6 separate regions of the Homo sapiens genome follow, and all the other regions are linked to region 4. Evidence: promoter capture Hi-C in 16 types of primary human blood cells and fetal thymus (Javierre and others, 2016). All regions are on one chromosome and are shown on one strand. The core of a region is centred on a gene start or on the middle of the fragment in contact, and the rest is flanking DNA. Distances in the headings are between cores, read along the strand shown. Region 1 overlaps DGKD (diacylglycerol kinase delta). Region 2 has its middle 14 kb from the start of ATG16L1. Region 3 overlaps ATG16L1 (autophagy related 16 like 1). Region 4 holds the start of GIGYF2 (GRB10 interacting GYF protein 2). Region 5 overlaps ATG16L1 (autophagy related 16 like 1). Region 6 overlaps USP40 (ubiquitin specific peptidase 40).

Region 1 (3,326 bases), core at 19-2,518, 660 kb before region 4:
TCTAAAATAATAAAAAGTATAGATAGTAAATACATAAACCAGTAACATAGTTGTTTATTATCATCATCAACTATTATGTACTGTATATACTTGTATGTGCTATACTTTTCTACCACTTGCAGTGCAGTAGGTCTGTTTACACCAGCATCACCACAAACACATAGGTAATTCATTGCCCTACAACATTATAACAGCTACCACGTCACTAGACAATTGGAATTTTTCAGCTTCATTATAATCTTATGGGACCACCTTTGTCCATGTGGATCATCATCCGGAAACATCATTATGCAGAGCACAAGGGTGTACCAGGAATTGATTAGATATGGTTCTTTCAGTTCATACGGCTATCGAATCTGTTCATGGTACCTGTTATTTGTTGTAGAAAATTCTCAGGTATTACTTTTCTTTCTTTTTTTTCTATTTAATACAGAGTTTCGCTCTTGTCGCCCAGGCTGTAGTGTAATGGTGTGGTCTCAGCTCACTGCAACTTCCACTTCCCAGGTTCAAGCGATGCTCCTGCCTCAGCCTCCCGAGTAGCTGGGATTACAGGCATCTGCCACCACACCCAGCTAATTTTTGTACTTTTAGTAGACACAGGGTTTCACCATGTTGGCCAAGCTGGTCTTGAACTCCTAACCTCAGGTGATCCGCCCACCTCAGCATCCAAAACTGCTGGGATTACAGTCGTGAGTCACTGCACCTGGCCACATTATCTTTTCAAATATTGTGTCTCCTCAATTTTCTCTCACTTCTCCTCTCTTGTGACAATTAAACACAAGTAAGACCTTCTTACTATATCTGTCTCCCACCCTCTCCAAATTTTTCCATTTTTTATGTCTCCAGGCTTCCTTGTGGGTATTTTCTTCTGAGCTATCTTCTGGTTCACACAATTTTTTCAGCCTGGGTCTAATCTGCTCTTTTTTTGGTTAGTTAATTTTGATCACTATGCTTTTTCAATTTTATAATTTTCTTTTATTGGCTGGGTGAGGTGGCTCACGCATGTAATCCCAGCACTTTGGGAGGCCGAGGCGGGCAGATCACCTGAGATTGGGAGTTCGAGACCAGCTTAGCTAACATGGTAAGACTCCGTCTCTATTAAAAATACCAAAAAATTAGCTGGGCGTGGTGATGGGCACCTGTAATCCTAGCTACTCGGGGGGCTGAGGCAGGAGAATTGCTTGAACCCAGGAGGCAAAGGTTGTAGTGAGCTGAGATCATGCCACTGCACTACAGCCTGGGTGACAAGAGTGAGACTCCGTCTTAAAAGAAAAAAAAAATGTCTAGTATCTTTAGTAGAGGCGGGATCTTGCCATGTTGGCCAGGCTGGTCTCAAACTCGTGACCTCCAATGATCCACCTGCCTCAGTCCAAAAGTGCTGAGATTATAGGCGTGAGCCATCTGGCCAGTGTGGACTAGAATTTTCATCTGGTTCTTTTCCATAGTTTCTAGTTCTCTGCCAAAACTCTCCATCTGATCTCGTGTCTCCTCCAACACAACGAGCACAGTTGTTATAAAGTCTGGGTCTGGAGTCTGGAAGCCCTGTGGGTCTGTCTACAGCCTGTAGTTTCGACTGGTTTTAGCTCAAGTGCCTCGCCTCCCTTGATGTCTATTTTTTTACTGTATGCACAATCATGAACGTACAAACAGACTCGTGAAAGTCATTAGAGGCCTCCATTGATAACTGGGAGGATTAGAGGGAGATATCTCCCTCTAGAGAGGATTAAAGTTTGCTTCTGTTGGGAATCTAGAGACACTAGTACACTGGGATTACTTTAATTTCAGAGGACTGAGGTGATTTGAAGCAGGGCTGCAGTCCTTCCAATACTTCTGGCTCCTGCGCATTCCTTGGAAGTGGCTTCTTTGGATCCCAATCCAAATTGTGAGGGGAGGGTGTCACCCAGGACTGTTGCCCTTTGGCAGAACCTGGCACCTCAGCCCTGCTAAGGCACTCAGACAGTCTCACAGGGCTCAGCCTCTTGGCTCCCATGTTTTGTTCAGGGCCCAGTGTTCTTTCCCCAGGGCTGCCCTAGGGCTGCCATAAAACTTCAAGGCTTAAAACAAAACTTGGAAAAAAAAAAAAAAAAAAAAAACTTGACTGTCTCACTGCTCTGGGGGCTGGAAGTCGGAGATCAAGGGATCAGAAGGCCGCACTCCCTCTAAAGGCTCTAGGGGAGATTCCATCTGTTATCTCTTCCAGCTTCTGGTGGCCCCAGGCATTCCTTGGTTTGCATCAACGAACTCTAATCTCCGGCTCTATTTTCCCATAACCTTTTTCCCAACATGTCTTTCTGTCCAAATCTCCCTCCCCTTCCTCTTATAAAGAAACCAACACTGGATTTAGAGTTTCTCCTAAGTTCACGATGATTTACTCTCAAAATCTTTAATTAGCCAGGCACAGTGGCTTGAGCCTACGCTCCCAGCTACTCAGAAGCCTGAAGCAGGAGGATCACTTGAGCCCAGGAGTTTGAGACCAGCCTGGGGAATATAGCAAGACCCTATCTCAAAATAAAAAATTTTGGCCAGGCACAGTAGCTCATGTCTGTAATTCTAGCACTTTGGGAAGCCAAAGGGGGAGGATCGCTTGAGCCCAGGAGTTTGAGACCCCAAGCATGGGCAACATAGTGAGACCCTCGTCTCCATAAAAATGTGTTTTTAAATTAGCCAGGCATCATGGAATGCATCTGGAGTCCCAGCTACTCAGGTGGCTGAGGCAGGAGGATTGCCTGAGCCCAGCCAGAGACTGCAGTATGCCACTGCACTCCAGCCTGGACGACCGAGCAAGACCCTGTCTCAGAAAAAAAGAAAAAAAATTTTTTTAAAGATATTTAACTAATATCTTATTATGTGGGCATCCTGAAGTTCTAGGTGGACCAAATTTGGTAGAGATGCCAAATCCACTACAGACGCCACTACAGATTCCAAGGTCAAAAGCAGCCCCAAATACCACACTCACTTCCACAGATCTTCAGCCACCCCAGATCCTAGTCCAGAAATTCAGCATCATCTTATTAGCAGACTGTGCTTGGAAGAGTGGCGCTGCAGTCACTCAGCTCACCACTGCCAGAAGCAGAAGGCACTGCTCCCTACTCACCTTCCAGACCCAGCCAGTCACTGCCTCAAGAAGCCCTCCTAGACCTCCCTGATATCAGGTCAAATTCACCTATGATGTCCTCTCAAAGTATTCTGGCCCTCTCCTCATCAGCACCCGTCCCCATCACAACTTCATATTAACTGTGTGATTGTTTTATTAATGTCTTCTAGACTATCATCTCTAAAAATTTTTGTTGTTACTCAATAAGATACCCCTGGTGCCTCGCACAACA
Region 2 (2,990 bases), core at 465-2,964, 540 kb before region 4:
CTGATGACCCCAGCCCCAGCTGCCATCTGACTGCAACCACATGAGAAACCCCAAGCAAGAACCACCCTTCTGAGCCCAGTCAGCCACGGAATTGTGAGACAGGATAATGAATTGTTGTTTTCAGTTTTGGGGATGGTTCGTGATGCAGCAATAGATAACCAGAATAATATCTAAAGGAAACTGGGTCTCTCTCAGGAAGGAAGAAGCAGGAAATGGCTGCTGGGTAGGCTATCAATGGTGTGTCCCCTTTACCCTGTTGGGAGTGTGCACAGAACACCACGTTATCCTCAGAAGACATCTGATGAGCGTAGAGCCAAAGCAAGGCAAATGTCTGCAGGTGGGATCACTTTACATTGTCACAGTGGGATCCATTTTCCCCACCATATGAAGGAAACTAGTTATTGTCAGAAGAGACCATTGGGATGAAAAGTGTGTATCTTCGAAACCACTAAAGAAAAACTCACACTTTGGGAGGCCGAGGCGGGTGGATCATGAGGTCAGGAGATCAAGACCATCCTGGCTAACAAGGTGAAACCCTGTCTCTACTAAAAATACAAAAAATTAGCCGGGCGCGGTGGCGGGCGCCTGTAGTCCCAGCTACTCGGGAGGCTGAGGCAGGAGAATGGCGTGAACCCGGGAAGCGAAGCTTGCAGTGAGCCGAGATTGCACCACTGCAGTCCGCAGTCCGGCCTGGGCGACAGAGCGAGACTCCGTCTCAAAAAAAAAAAAAAGAAAAAAAGAAAGAAAAACTCAGTCTGTACCTTCTATAATAATAATTAGTAATGCCAGTAACAGCAGGTAACATTTATTGAATGTATACAGTGTGTGAGGCTAAATGCTTTACAATTGTTCTCTTCTCAGTTTTCACAACAGCATAGTCGTGTTGGTGCTATTGCTGGCTCTACTTCACAAAGACAATGTAGCCTGGGTTCTGGGTTCAAATTCTGATGCTAGCACTTATCACCTCTGATATCTTAGGCAAGTTGCTTAAACTCTGTGCCCCAGGATTAAATGAATTAATACTGACAACGGTGTCTTGCACACAGTAAGTGCTTTATAGGTATGGCCATTATTATTATTTCAGAGGAAGAAAGTGAGGCTCAGGGAGACAGGTAACTTGTCCAGGTGCACATGATGGGTAAGAGGTAGGCAGATTCCAACCCAGCCTGTGGACTCCATAGCCTGCAAGCTTACCAATCTGTGCCTTCCTTCTCCTGCCTCATAAAAAAGAGCCTGTGTGTTGACCTTGAACTTGTATCTCTCAGATCTCCTGCTGGGGGAAATACAATCACCTGACAGCCCTTGATGCTGTGCTCTAAATCCACCACCACATTCAAGCTGTGTCCACATTTCTTACCACTGCTCCCAACCAATGACGAAGCACAGCAGGGCTGCTAAGGCAGAATGACTCCTGTGACACGTGGGACTCCTCTGATGAACTTTGCCTCAAGGATGCTGCTATGGACCGAATGTTTGTGCCCCTGCCCCAAATTCATATCTTGAAGCCATAATCCCCAGTGTGATGGTATTTGGAAGTGGGACCTTTGGGAGGTGCTTAGGTCACAAGGGAAGAGCCCCCATGAATGGGATCAGCACCCATTCATGAGGTGAGGACCTTATAAAAGAGGCCCCAGAGAGCTGCCTTGCTCCTCCTACCATGTGAGGACACAGTGAGAAGTCTACTATCTGCAAACCAGGAAGAAGGTTCTCACCAGATACTGGATCTGCCAGCACCTTGACCTTGGACTTCCCAGGCTCCAGAACTGTGGAAAATACATTTCTGTTGTTTATAAGCCACCCAGTATATGGTATCTTATTATAGTAGACTGAACTGACTTAGACAGATGTCTATCAACCCTGCCCAAACTTTGTTAGAATGTGCGGCAGGCTGAGAGTCTTCCTACCTCACCTTCCTTCCCTCTCTCCTTCACCAGGGTCAGACCTGCATCATGGCCTGACAGCTCTCCCAGCCTCCTCCTGTAATCTCCCCATCTTCCTGCACAGACACTTCCTTCAATAAATCTCTCATGTCTAACCCTGCCCTAGAACGTACTTCTCTGAGAACCAGAGAGGTTTGGATGAAACCCAAGTAATAGAAGAAAGTGGGAATGAAAGGAGCTGCCACCAACACTGCTGTTGATGTTTTGGAGGTCCTGACCCTTGCCAAGTCCACTTGTCTTTCTCTCTAATCAAGTCATGTGCCTGGGTGGCTGTGTTTCTATCCCATGACTGAAGCTTTCCGGCCAAGAACTTTTTGGACCAGCCGTGGACACCTAACTGGGCCTAAATCCTCTCTTAAGGGAGAGTGAGGAGCCGGGCCTCTGGGTCTGGAGCAGTCAAGGGCTGAGTCAGCACCATGGCAAGACAAAGCCAAGGAGAACCAGGAATAGGCAGAGGACGCTGGGCAGAGAAAGAAACAGGTGAGCAGAAGGAAACGTCCAGAGAGGACCAGGGCCCAGAGAAGAGCCACCCTCTGCCTGACAACCTTGTTCCCAGCTCCATGTGGCTGAGGCCTGGCTAGCTAGACTCTTCATCAGTGCTCCTTTTTTTTTTTTTTTTTTTTTTTTTTTGAGGCAGAGTCTTGCTCTGTCGCCCAGGCTGGAATGCAATGGCACGATCTTGGCTCACCACAACCTCCGCCTTCCAGGGTCAAGTGATTCTCCTGCCTCGGCCTCCCGAGTAGCTGGGATTACAGGCATGTGCCACCACACCTGGCTAATTTTTATATTTTTAGTAGAGACAGGGTTTCACCATGTTGGCCAGGCTGGTCTCAAACTCCTGACCTCAAGTGATTCACCCGCCTCAGCCTCTCAAAATGCTGGGATTACAGCGTGAGCCACTCTGCCTGGCTGAGCTCTCCTTAGGGTTAGGTTACTCTGTCTCTGCTTGGAGCTAGTTTCTCTTCCCCATAAGCAGAAAGCCTTGACTGAAATGGAAATTTAGAATTTTAGAGCAGGAAGACCCCTTAGACATCATTTTATGGCAAAGAC
Region 3 (3,222 bases), core at 674-3,173, 590 kb before region 4:
AAAAAATCCAGTGGTGTACTTAATTAAGTCATGCTGGGATGAAGGGAGTTTGGCCCCTCTGGCAGTCAGGCCTTATCACACTCTCCCTAAGAGAGGAGCTCTGAGTGAGCTGGAAAGACAGTACACATGCCTCTGAAGAGCCGGGCAGTGGTGGTCAGCACTGGTTAGGTCTGGGAGCAGTTGCTGCTGCCCAAGGACAGGGAGAGAGGTTCTGAAGGAAAATGGTATCTGGGTTCCAACTAGCAGGTGGGCTTGTGTGGGCAGAACAAAGCTAGGAAAAAAGGGGGTCTGGGGCCTGCCTATCAGGTGGAAGATAAAAGAAGGTGTGTGGAGATCAGTGTTTAGGACACGTCAATGCACTGAAATGCACTGACAACAGGGACTTCCAAGGGAGACAGGGAGGCGGAAAGGAAGGAGAGTAGGGAAGGGGAAGGAGACACAGAGGACGTGGACATAACCAAAGAGTCAGGGATGTGTTTCTATAACCCTTTCTCCAGCGGCTGCCACTCTAACCGCTCTACCTGGCGTACTCTGTAGACTGTGGCCTGCTGTGCTGTGTGAGTGGCCCCAGCTTCTCTCCACTGACCTAGCTCAGCCAGCCGAGCAGGTGGGCGGACAGTGCCCTCACAGCGCCGACTGAGGTCTAAACCGGATGACCCCTGAGATGAAGTCAAAGGCCTTGCTCACAACGCAACGGGGGGCTGAGACAGGGTTCATCTTACCTGTGCTGCTTTGAAAGAACCTTTTCCACTTTCCCTGTGAGCACACTCCAGATATACAGAGAGCCCTCAGCAGAGCCTGCCGCCACGTAACTGCCATCAGGGCTACAGAAGACAGTAAGAAAAGAAAGGTTGTCAATTCCCCACCCCCAATTCAGCATCTCTGTGGCCTTTTTCCCAAGAAGGAATGTTTGTTCTTCACTGATGACCACTCCTGTGTACCCAGACCTCAGAATGTGTGCTAGTCATGGCCCTTCCAGCCAAATCTGCTTTTCCCCAGTATTTCAGCCCCGTCCGGCTAATGAACAGTGGCATCACATTGCTTCTTGGGGCTCCAAGTCCTTAACCATCTACAGACTTCAACAAAACAACATATAGGGAGATCAAAGCCAACCTCCACATAGCTAAGGGTTTCAGCCCATGGACTGCCTTGTTACATGCCTCAAAGAGAGGAGGGAAGAAAAGAAACATCTTAGCAACTGAGCCTGGAAAGGTATTTGGAAGAAGCAGGATACATGGAAGAAGGGAACAAGGAGCAGAAAACTGCAGACCACCTGCACACCCTTCTCCAAAAAGCCTTTTCAGTCCCGCCCCAGGCCCACGGCCACTCCTGCCCTTTTCTAAAGGCTCTCCAACAGCTCTTGCGTGAATGAGTGATGAGAAGTGAACCTAATGGGCTCACCCACAACAAAGCAACCAGCCAACTGTTATTTTTTGGTACAACACGTTAGGTTCATGTAATCACAAAAGGAACACTGGAAAGGAAGAGACAATAATGGTGGCCTGCAATTATGAACTTACAGGCACACTCCTGGAAACATAGGTTGGGCACTGAACAAAATTTAGCTCTATATCCCCAGTGGGAAAATGCCCATGCAGGACTCTTTGTGATGAACCAAATTGGCGGGGGGTGGGTCACTACTAACCTGAAGACAACTCTGGTCCAGTCAGAGCCGCACTTGAACCCAGGTGCACTGAAACAAACAACAGGGCACTGTCACTGAGGGAGCTCAGGCCACGCAGCACGTTAAGAGAGCAGGGCTGGGCCTCTGGTCTTCATGCAACCAGCACATCTTCAGTTACCTGAATGTCTGCTTGATAGCATTTGTTCGGAGATCAATAACTTTTAGCAAGTCATCACGGGAGCAGCTCAGGAGCTCAGTCCTTTCTGGGTTTAAGTCCAGGGCAGTAATCTTTCCCAACAGCTCCATCTCTCGAACTATGCTCTCTGATCTAAGAGGGAGAACAGATCTGAGAAATGTAACGTAGGCCAGAACTACTTCACATCATGCCGTGGAGGAAAAAAAAGGCACTGCAATTCAACTAGCATGCAACGCTCTGCCAGCGCAGTCAATGTGTTCCCAGTCTTCTAATAACCTGTGACTGCTTTTCTTACTTTCCCATCAACAGACCCTAAGACAGTCATTCCCAGACTAGAACTCTGAAGTTGGTAAGAATTTCCTCATCCATTTTTGGAATGACAACAATCGCCCATCGGTTTCTGATCAGCATGAGCTAACTAGGGCTACTACCCAATTCGTATTATTTTCAGTGATGTGATTTCAACTTTTGGATAAAGTTGGCAAAGAAACCTGCATTAGTGGGCCTGGGCTGCCTTGTAAGTGTAACTCTAGCCTCTTGCAGGTTTTCTGCCCTATTCACTGTGGCTCTGTGGCCCTCCACCTCCAGATATGGGGCCAGGAAAGCCAGGGCAGAGCCACGGCCCTACGCACCTCCCTCTTCTTCTCTGTGCTGTGGCCCATGTCCAGGGTGGCTAACAGCCACCCTGGGCAGGGCCCTGTTGGTGACATTCATAGCCAAAGGGGGTGCTGACCTGTTCTGTGATGATTTTGTTGTAGGCTTTCAATGAAACCTTTTCCTACCTCCCACCTTAACTAAGCAAGAATTTATCTTATTGTTGCTAAATATGCAGCTTGAAGCAAGCTACTCCACTTCCTTGGGACTCAGGGTCTTCACCTGTCAAATTATGGGATGGACTAAGAGACTTCGAACATCCAACTTAACTCTCAAATTCCATCTTTCAAGTTCCAATTTCAGGTTTTAAAAGCAAACTAAAGATTATGAATAAAATGTGAAGTGGTGTCCAGGAACCATGAGCATTGTCAGGACTTTCTGGTGCCATGCTGTGTTTCAAAGCATCATCTATCACCACAGGCCCTGTACCCCCACCCTCTCTACAACCCTGCTGGGAGGCTGTCCTCATTTACTCTCCATCCTGTCTTCCCCTTCCTCCAACCTGTCAATAAGCCCTGTCCAAATTCTCCTTCAAATAGATTCTCTCCTCCACATGTTCCTCTACTGACTTGAACTTAGGTCCTTATCAACTCTATTGGTTTCCTATTCCCTAATATGCCCTCTCAAAATGCCACCAAAGTCGTCTACTAGACTCCTGCAAAGCAACCATTTCCTTGCTAAACACCCAACGACTTACAAGATCGAGTGATTTGACAATGGCTTATCAAGCCTGTGGCAACCTGATTTC
Region 4 (3,306 bases), core at 388-2,887:
TTAACAGTGTAGTAAGTGCTCAACAGGGTATCTGTCAAATAAATGAATGTATGAATGAATAAACAAATGAATGGAAGCACATGGTTCCTTCTCCCTCCCAAACCTCAAGAGTCTCAAATGCTGTCAGGTACCAAAAAGTCATGAAGCCCTCTCCTTTCTGGTGAAGCACTACCATCACCAGTGTATTCCTTGATGTTAAATTTCGAAAGAAACATCATGTGACATTTTTCCAGTTACGTGCCACTTTTAAATACTTTTCTAGTGTCCTCTTCTGTTGTCAACATCTGATGTAAAAGCCAAGTACATATTCCAGTTTGAGCACATCAGAAACTGCTACACCAACTAGTAAAACACGTAAAACCATCAATGAATAAGAGAAAGTATTTGTGTTCTAGGCAAAATGGACAAAATAAGGCCAAAGCTACAAATATTAGAAGGAGCAAAATTAATGTACAGAAAGAATGACAGAATTTTTTTTTCTAATCTAGGAAGTCATTTGATTCTAAAAAGGACATACTATATAAAGAAAGAATACCTTCCCCAGGCACAACATTGGGAATCAAAACTGCCTTAATTCAATGTATGTAGCTCTAGAAAGGAAGCTGTTCACAGCTTCTAGCCCCATACTCAATTTCTTGCAAGTTAAACTGGAATACTTACCTTTCTTACAGAGAGACTACGTGTGTTTAAGTGCTTTGACTTGCAGGAAAACGAAAACAACAAAATAAAAAACACAGTACTAAATAATTAACTGCAAAACAACGTTATTGCTTCCCAAACACGGTCATACGCTCCGCTTCTTTCATGCCCCCATTCCCTGTTCGCTTGATTTATGTTTCAGTCGCAAAACAAGTATTCAGAGTGCTTTTGGAAACTGACACTTAAGGATAATGCCCATTTCAACCTGATGTGAACATTTGGGTCCCCAAGGCTGCCATGGGCTCTAGTTTCCCAGCCTCGGTCCCAAGGTTCCGATCATGGTGGCTGCACCTCGCCTCAGGCCTGGTCCAGACCCAGTACTCTCGCCACGGAAGGAGTCTCCTCCGTCCAGATGCTCTGTGGGGAAGGCAGGAGCGCACCTCCCAGGGACCAGGTGTGGACAGGAGAGCCGGCAGGAGCAGCTGTCTGGCCGCAGCAGCTGTTACCGGGCCACCCCGAGACTGGGCGGGTGTCTGGCGCGGAGAAGCAAGCAGAGGAAGGCGAGCCCTCCAGCTCCGAGCAAGCCGGCCTGACACTGCCCACCCCACAACCCTCCTGCCTTGTTCGGCTCCCCTCGCAATGCCAAGAGGCCCTGGCCTAGGGGCTTCTCGGCTCCTCGCGGCCGTGACGCGCCAGGGCCCTCAGCGCCCCTCGCCCAGGAGGAGGCTCCCTCCGGCCCTGCACCTGACCTGTCCCGTCGCCTGACGGCCCAAGCCGGCCGGAGCGGCCTGTGGGTGTCCATGCGGCCGGGCCAGCTCGGGCAGGAGGAGCAGGGGCGCGAACGCGGACCGGAGACACAGGCGGCCCGGGACGCGGCGGCGGGGCCGGGGCGCGGAGCAGAGCCGGGCAGGGGAGCGACACGGAACGGCTGGTTACCTGCGGTCCGGGACAGGGAGTCTCAGAACCCCAGTCAGTCCTCAGCCTCAACAACACAAGATGGCCGACACGTCGCCACGCACGTCACGTGACCGCGCTCCCGCTCCGCCACGCCCCCTGCTCCGCCCCCGCCCCTTCCCGCTTCCCTCCCCACTCTCCAGTCTCCCACGACATCCTTCCTTTCCGCCACCACCCGCCCCTCTGCCCAGACACGCCCCTGCCCGAGACCCGGATGAAAGGTTGGAAGAGGGCGGGGCCGTGGCAGTGCGCAGGCTCCCGCTGACCCCTTGGCAGCAGCCGGGTACCTGCCCTTGAGTTGAGTGGTGTTGGTGTCCAGGGTTGGGCCCGGACCAGGCACCGTGTGACTCACTGTCCTGTACGCCCAGAGCTCTTTTGCAGTTCAAAAGCCTCTGCATCACTTGCGGGCTGGTTTTCCAAATTAGAACTTTTCCACAGCTTTTAGTCCGGCATTTTTCTTCGCAGTTGCCATCCTAGAGCGAATGGGAAAGCCGCAAAAGCTGAAATTCAAAGCAGTTTCTCTACTTGTTAACAGTTCTGGTAGAACTGGGAATTCATTTCAGAGTGTTGTACTGGGACAGCTGGAAAGGACTTGAGAGCTCTGATTCCTTCCTAGGACATCTGGGGCTATAACCCTTTTACCTAGAGATGAACTATTTTGGAATTGACAGATAAAATACAAGACACCCAGCAATATTTGGGGCACACACTGAAAAATTGTTCGTTGTTTTTCTGAAATTCAAATTTAATTGGGCGTCCTGTGTTTGCTAAATCTAGCAACTCTATCCTTAGGCATCCCATTCTTGCCTGTGTCTCCAACTTCTTCCTTCCTACAGGATCCTTCCTGTCAGCTTTAAAGATTACTTGTGTCTCCCATCTTAAAATGGAATGTTAAAAACTCCAATTCTCATGCCGGGCGCAGTGGCTCACACCTGTAATCTCAGCACTTTGGGAGGCGGAGGTGGGCGGATCACGAGGTCAGGAGATCGAGACCAGACCATCCTGGCTAACACGGTGAAATCCCGTCTCTACTAAAAATACAAAAAAAAATGTAGCCGGGCGTGGTGGCACGCACCTGCAGTCGCAGCTAGTCGGGAGGCTGAGGCAGGAGAATCGCTTGAACTGGGGAGGCAGACGTTGCAGTGAGCCGATATCGCGCCACTGCACTCCAGCCTGGCGACAGAGCAAGACTCCGTCTAAAACAAAAACAAAAACCTCCAATTCTCGGCCGGGCAGTGGCTCACGCCTGTAATCCCAGCACTTTGGGAGGCCGAGGCGGCGGATCACCTGAGGTTGGGAGTTTGAGACCAGCCTGACCAACATGGAGAAACCCCGTCTCTACTAAAAATACAAAATTAGCCGAGCGTGGTGGCGCATGCCTGTAATCCCAGCTACTTGGGTAGCTGAGGCAGGAGAATCGCTTGAACCCGGGATGCTGAGATTGCGGTGAGCCAAGATCGCGCCACTGCACGCCAGCCTGGGCAACAAGAGTGAAAATCCGTCTCGAAAAAAACAAATAAACAAACAAACAATCAAAAACACCAATTCTCCCTCCTGCGACCCTGTTCCCTTTCAAAGCCAAGCTGCACCAAAGAATTGTTTATATGCACTTTCTCCATTTCCACACCTGGCATGCAATCATCAACCACACCGATGTGGCTTCTGTCCTTTCCTATCTGCCTATTGCTTGCCCTAAGAACACCCCATCCTACA
Region 5 (2,990 bases), core at 448-2,947, 560 kb before region 4:
AAACAAAGGAGGTGGCAAAATAAATGCAAACCAAAGGATGCAAGAGGCTAGGGGGTGGAGAACCAATGGGCTTGGTGAATATGGGGAATATGAGGAATAAAGGAATATGGAGATGGGAAGATCTAGAGGGAAGAAGGAACCATAGATGACTAGTGGAAAACAACGATACTGTGAATGGAAACAAAGAAGTCAGGAGGGCAGGCTTATTATGGATAATGTTTGTGGAAATGGAAAGACTGAACAAGGGGTAACCTGATGAAGCCCACCGTTCAACCTGCCTTGCCTGCTTTTCATCACTTTTTTCTAGTTCCAAACTCCCACTAGCAAGTCGAGTTGCCAAACAACACATAACTAAACTCCCAATAGCTTCCTTATAAATAATAACTGACTGTGGCTCACTACAATAACTGGTGCTTAAAGTTTTTCTCCAGGAACTAGGAGGCAGCTCTTGCTCATTAAAGCTGGTTGAGACCCCCAACCCTTCAACTGGGCCTGTGTGAATGCCCAAGAGGTGATCTTTTGACATCAGAGGGCCAAAACACTCCTCCCTCAGATGGTGCTGACGCCACCATTTTCTGCATGTGTCCTATGAGGAACCACAAAGCTAGATTATGCTTGCGTGGAAGCCCCAATTACCTCATCTTTCCTACCCACCAATCACCTCTTCCCACACTTTAGACCACCCTGCTTTCTACTGCCTAAGTACCCCCAATCCCTGTTTTCAAGGAGGTGGATTTGAGACCTGTTCTCCTGCCTCCTTGCTTGGCCACGTTATGAATAAACTCTCACAAAACCCATCATCTCAGTGATTAACTTGCTGTGTGTGGGCTGAATGAACCTGGTTTATAACAAGACCTCCAACTAAATGACCATCCCCCTGGGTGTGGTGGCTCATGCCTGTAAACCCAACACTAATGGAAGGTTGAGGAGGGAGGATCACTTAAGCCCAGGAGTAAAGACCAGCCTGGGTAACACAGTGAGACCCCTATCTCTACAAAAAATTAAAAAATTAGACTGGCATGGTGGTGCACACCTATAGTCTCCCAGCTACTCAGAAGGCTAAGGCAGGAGGATTGCTTGAGCCCTGGAAGTTGAGGCCGCAGTAAGCCATGATCATGCCACTGCACTCCAGCCTGGGCAACAGAGAGAGACCCTGCCTCAAAAAAGTCTATCCCAGTGAAATTTAGCCAAAAGAACGGCTGCATATTCCAAGCACATGAGTTTGGCTAACAGATAAAGAATACAAGAATATAGTCATCAAGGGTTTAATCAGATAGAAATGTTTTTAGTTTTCAATTGGATGAATTTAGACGAAAATGGTGAAACAGCATTATCTACACCTAAAATTAACCAAAATACTAAAACTAATATCTTAAGTACTACAGAAGGCCTCCCAGGGCCACAGCCAGGCAGGATCTCCTGAACTGTTACAAAGCAAGGATGGAAGCTAGGCCCTGCCAAGCCATCTGTTCTCTGGTATCTTTCCCACTCTGTCCTCTATCAGGAGACCATCGTGCCAGATGAGGAGACATGAGAGCAGCTACAGCTCTAGGAGTAAATACATCAGGCTACAGCTACCATTTCTAGACACCATAAATCACCAACCTTGTTTTTACAATTGCTAAATGTGTGGAGATTTCAGAGCAATAATGGCTACTGTCCCCATACCAAATTTAACATGCAAACACAATGAATATTACAGAAGAGGATAATAAGACTTCAAATATACATAAATGCACACCAGTGACCCAGTAAACACAAATACCCCGCCATGAACAAATATGTATTTCATGAAATATTCTATCAATACACACCAAGAGATAGATATAGATATATAGATATATAGATATATAGATATTTTTTTTTTTTTTTTGAGACGGAGTCTCGCTCTGTCACCCAGGCTGGAGTGCAGTGGTGTAATCTTGGCTCACTGCAACTTCCGCCTCCCAGGTTCAAGCAATTCTGTCTCAACCTCCCGGGTAGCTGGGATTACAGGCGCCCGCCACCATGCCCGGCTAATTTTTGTATTTTTAGTAGAGATGGGGTTTCACCATCAGGGCCAGGCTGGTCTTGAACTCCTGACCCTGTGATCCACCCGCCTTGGCCTCCCAAAGTGCTGGGATTACAGGTGTGAGCCACCAAGCCCAGCACACACTGATATTTTTCTAATCTAGTTCTTAAAGAAAAATAAGAGCTTACTGCAATCTGCTAATTTGATTTCACAATCTACTAATACTGATGTTCCTCTACTTACTGAGGCTATGTCTCTTTAAACCCATCAGAAGTTGAAAATATATAGTAGGTTGAAAATACATTCAATACATCTCACCTACTGAGTATCATAGGTTACACTTACATTAGCCTACAGTTGGGCAAAATCATCTAACACAAAGCCTATTTTATAATAAGTTGTTGAATATCTCATGCAATTTATTGAATACTAAACTGAAGGGGAAAAACAGACTGGTTGGATGGATACTCAAAGCACAGTCCTACTGAAAGTGTATCGCTTCTGCACCATTATAAAGGTTAAAAATTGTAAGCTGGGCTGGGCGCGGTGGCTCAAGCCTGTAATCCCACCTCTCTGGGAGGCCGAGGCGGGCGGATCACGAGGTCAGGATATCAAGACCATCCTGGCTAACACGGTGAAACCCCGTCTCTACCAGAAATACAAAAAATTAGCCAAGCGTGGTGGCGGGTGCCTGTGGTCCCAGCTACTCGGGAGGCTGAGGCAGGAGAATGGCTTGAACCCAGGAGGCGGAGCTTGCACTGAGCCCAGAACGCGCCACTGCACTCTAGCCTGGGCGACAGAGCGAGACCCCATCTCAAAACAAAACAAAACAAAACAAAACAAAACAAAAAAAATTGTAAGCTGGCCAGTGCGGTGGCTCACGCCTGTAATCCCAACACTTTCGGAAGCTGAGGTAGGTGGATCATTTGAGGTCAAGAGTTCGAGACCAGCCTGGCCAACATGGTGAAACCCTGCCTCT
Region 6 (3,036 bases), core at 5-2,504, 870 kb before region 4:
TGCCTGAGGACGCGGCGCTCTCCTGGAGTCGGGGCAGTGGTTTCGGGCCACGGGGACCTCTGCCTTTTTGCGCCCCTGGGCCTGTGGTGGCTTGGAGGGCCTCGGCCGGCCGTAGGAGTTGGGAATTCAGGAATGCAGACAACGAGCTCGAGGCTAGACTCTCGAGTTGTGTTTTTTTAGTTTTCTTCTGAGGAAAAGAAAAATAATTGCATTTCAGCGCTTCCTGTCATTTGGTACCTATGCTAGGCGCTTTACGTTTCTCATCTCCAAGTGACCCTCCGCCACACTCGATGTGAAACCTTGGGGAAGTCACCTAGGCCCCCAGGGCTAACGATGGGATTAGTGGATACATACTGGAAGGCCTTTAGGCTTGATAATTTTAGTGGCAGTCTTCCCCGCCCTCCGCTCCCCTTCCCCCCTCCCTCCCCAGTGAACTGACTTCCGGCCCAACAGCTTCGGGACTGTACTAAAGTGCTCTAAAAAAAGTTAACTTGATCTGTTTAATTTAAATGTCATAATCTGGTATATAGTACTGAAGGGTGTGACAAGCAGAGATTTTAGAGAGTTGATTCTCAGAATTTAGGGTTGGCTTTGCCGTCCCAGCAGTGGATTAGTTGTGGCAACAGGTTTTCTTTTTTAAAAAAATTAGTGATGTGAACGTGCCTTTTTAAAAACAGCTGTTACTTATTGTGGGCCAAACCCTGTACACTAACTGCCCTTCTTTCGTTATGTCATTGGATAGTTTAAATGACCCGAAGAGACAGATGGTATCCTATTTTACACATAAGAAAACAGATTAACATATCCAGGGTCACACAGGTAGTTAGGGTCCTGATAGGGATGAAAAAAATCTAGATCTTGCTGCCTCCAAAACCCAACTACTGTACATAGAAACAGTAGTCCTGTGTTCTAAGAAACAACAGAATCGACTCCCAAGTGTAAGGTAGGGGGATTTGGGGAAAATTTATTTTAAAAATAAAAGCATTTATATGTCACTTTTTTTAAGGGTAGTATTTAGTTTCACAATGTTTGGGGACCTGTTTGAAGAGGAGTATTCCACTGTGTCTAATAATCAGTATGGAAAAGGGAAGAAATTAAAGACTAAAGCTTTGGAGCCACCTGCTCCTAGAGAATTCACCAATTTAAGCGGAATCAGAAATCAGGGTGGAACCTGTTACCTCAATTCCCTTCTTCAGACTCTTCATTTCACACCTGAATTCAGAGGTATGCTATGTTACGTACATTTAACTAGCAATATGTACCATCTTCTTTACATGTAATTAATTATGCAAAATCACAAATAGACCAATTATCTTAAAGATATATTCTACAGTATGTGTTTATTGTTGCACATATAAGATATAAATTGGTAATTCCCTCTGCAGAGAAATGTGAAGCTTAATCTTAAATATATCCTGGGTGATGACAATAATGTTTAGTAAAAAAATAAAGCAATATATTTCTTTTTTAATTCCTGTAATTTAAAGTACAACGTAAAGACAATTGTCATAAGTATCAGTCTTCATTATTGTTACACTGTTTGAGTTTTAAGATTTCTCTAGAATAACAAACACTTAAGCCAGAGTTATCCAACCAATTATATCTACCTTTTGGAGTGGGGAAGGGTGTCATATTATTTATATGGGTGCACAGTTGTTCATACGCATTTCTGAAATCTGGAAAGCTCACACCCTCATCTGATCTCACCTGAGCTTGTTTGGCTTCAGAACCAGACCTGGTGTGAGGCTATTTACAGTTTTTAGTTATCTCATGTGGGTGAATGTTCATACATTCATTACAGGAATATTAATCTGCTTGATTAATGGAAGCTGGCCCAGACCCTGCTGGGAATGTAACATTTTATATATATATAAAAAACACTTTTTTCATATTATCTTTATAAACTCTGGAAATTCTGAATTCCAAAGACCCAGAGATTTTAGGTAAGGGATTGTGTGCAAGAAACAGACCCACCACCCAAATTAGCTAAATTTAAAAGGGGGGTTATTGTAAGAATATAGGGGATCTCAGAAATCAACTGCAGGAAGCCAGCCTGACCTTACTGGACCCTTGATTTCTTGCCCCTGTTTCTCTCTATATATTTCTCCCATACCCCATCTCTGCAAACCAGCTTCCTCCACAAGGGTCCTAGGAGCTGTGTTCCCGTGAGCTCAGTGTGAACATTACTTTGCCTTCACCTGGCCCTGACTGGGGTCCCCAGCACTACATGGCTTTGTAGCTCAGCTCTCCACAGTGTCTCCATATTAGGAGGACAGACAGCCTGACTCATCCTATCTGGTTTGCCATGTTCCTCTTCCCTACTGCCACCACATTTATCAAATCTTTGTGGTTCTTCTGTTGCTTCTAAGCTTAGAAAGACTTGCTGCCTCCAGAGATTTAGTAAATATTTACCGCTGTTACCTTCCTAGGAGCAATTTAATGGGTTGGATTGCATGTGGGATTTAAGTGGTACCTCTTAGCCTTGACTCGATCCCCTCCATAAAAATATCTCCCTGATGCAATCAGTAATTCCACCAGTAAAAATTGCCAGCACTAATAAGTACATTTCTAATAGGGATAACACTTTTCCAGGTTTTAATATAGTTGAAGTTAAAGGACAACTCGAAGTAGAAACGTAGCCTCAAAGGGACTGAGGAAGATGGTGAAGTGTAGGGCGGGTCATGGAGCGTACCATTAGGCAAGAGTAGTACTGAGAGTCCCAGGCCAACTTCCTCTCCAGCAGAGGGGATTGCTGGCCAAGCATATGATTTGACATCTTAGTGCACAATGTGCACTGCTTGTATAGCTTAGCCTGAATCCTGATGGTGACTGACAGGGAGGTATAATTTGGAAAGAATAAGGACTGTCAGAGAACTGGCGGGGGAAATTTTGGAATAGTATTTTAAATAATAGGGCTACATTGGGTTCCATTGTACTCCATTACAATGTAGCTGAGAGTACTGGGAGATTATTATAAAAGTTTTTGTATGGTTTTATGCTTTAACTTGTAGATTTGTAGTTCATTTTTGCCGAGTC

What was found. The method cuts DNA at HindIII sites, captures the fragments that hold promoters and counts their contacts. A CHiCAGO score of 5 or more calls a contact.
Region 1: a fragment that was not itself captured here is called in contact with the fragment with the promoter of GIGYF2 in region 4 in 1 of 17 cell types (neutrophils); the score reaches 8.5 in neutrophils.
Region 2: a contact is called between a fragment that was not itself captured here and the fragment with the promoter of GIGYF2 in region 4, in 1 of 17 cell types (naive CD8 T cells). The highest score is 5.3, in naive CD8 T cells.
Region 3: a fragment that was not itself captured here is called in contact with the fragment with the promoter of GIGYF2 in region 4 in 1 of 17 cell types (neutrophils); the score reaches 6.4 in neutrophils.
Region 5: a contact is called between a fragment that was not itself captured here and the fragment with the promoter of GIGYF2 in region 4, in 2 of 17 cell types (neutrophils and fetal thymus). The highest score is 5.8, in neutrophils.
Region 6: a fragment that was not itself captured here is called in contact with the fragment with the promoter of GIGYF2 in region 4 in 1 of 17 cell types (fetal thymus); the score reaches 5.1 in fetal thymus.

What each region holds. Positions count from the first base shown.
Region 1 is chr2:233,359,752-233,363,077 of GRCh38, reverse strand. All of the region lies in intron 1 of DGKD (diacylglycerol kinase delta), which reads right to left. Among named protein-coding and RNA genes, the nearest start is that of DGKD, 6.9 kb to the right of the region's middle. The HindIII fragment of the contact is 7,993 bases long and covers 1-3,326 here.
Region 2 is chr2:233,236,382-233,239,371 of GRCh38, reverse strand. No RefSeq gene overlaps it. Among named protein-coding and RNA genes, the nearest start is that of ATG16L1, 14 kb to the left of the region's middle. The HindIII fragment of the contact is 1,046 bases long and covers 1,192-2,237 here.
Region 3 is chr2:233,290,858-233,294,079 of GRCh38, reverse strand. It overlaps ATG16L1 (autophagy related 16 like 1), which reads right to left. Exons shown (of 18, transcript NM_030803.7): 15 at 1,803-1,952; 16 at 1,646-1,693; 17 at 723-824. Among named protein-coding and RNA genes, the nearest start is that of SAG, 15 kb to the left of the region's middle. The HindIII fragment of the contact is 4,043 bases long and covers 1-3,222 here.
Region 4 is chr2:232,695,662-232,698,967 of GRCh38, reverse strand. GIGYF2 (GRB10 interacting GYF protein 2) reads right to left here and starts at 1,637. Exons shown (of 29, transcript NM_001103146.3): 1 at 1,576-1,637. RefSeq lists enhancers at 439-1,133, 1,134-1,830 and silencers at 1,335-1,664, 1,695-1,784. The HindIII fragment of the contact is 8,556 bases long and covers 1-3,306 here.
Region 5 is chr2:233,256,885-233,259,874 of GRCh38, reverse strand. All of the region lies in intron 2 of ATG16L1 (autophagy related 16 like 1), which reads right to left. Among named protein-coding and RNA genes, the nearest start is that of ATG16L1, 6.7 kb to the right of the region's middle. The HindIII fragment of the contact is 7,071 bases long and covers 1-2,990 here.
Region 6 is chr2:233,563,544-233,566,579 of GRCh38, reverse strand. It overlaps USP40 (ubiquitin specific peptidase 40), which reads left to right. Exons shown (of 32, transcript NM_001365479.2): 2 at 1,007-1,224. The coding sequence starts at 1,026. Among named protein-coding and RNA genes, the nearest start is that of USP40, 1.7 kb to the left of the region's middle. The HindIII fragment of the contact is 290 bases long and covers 1,110-1,399 here.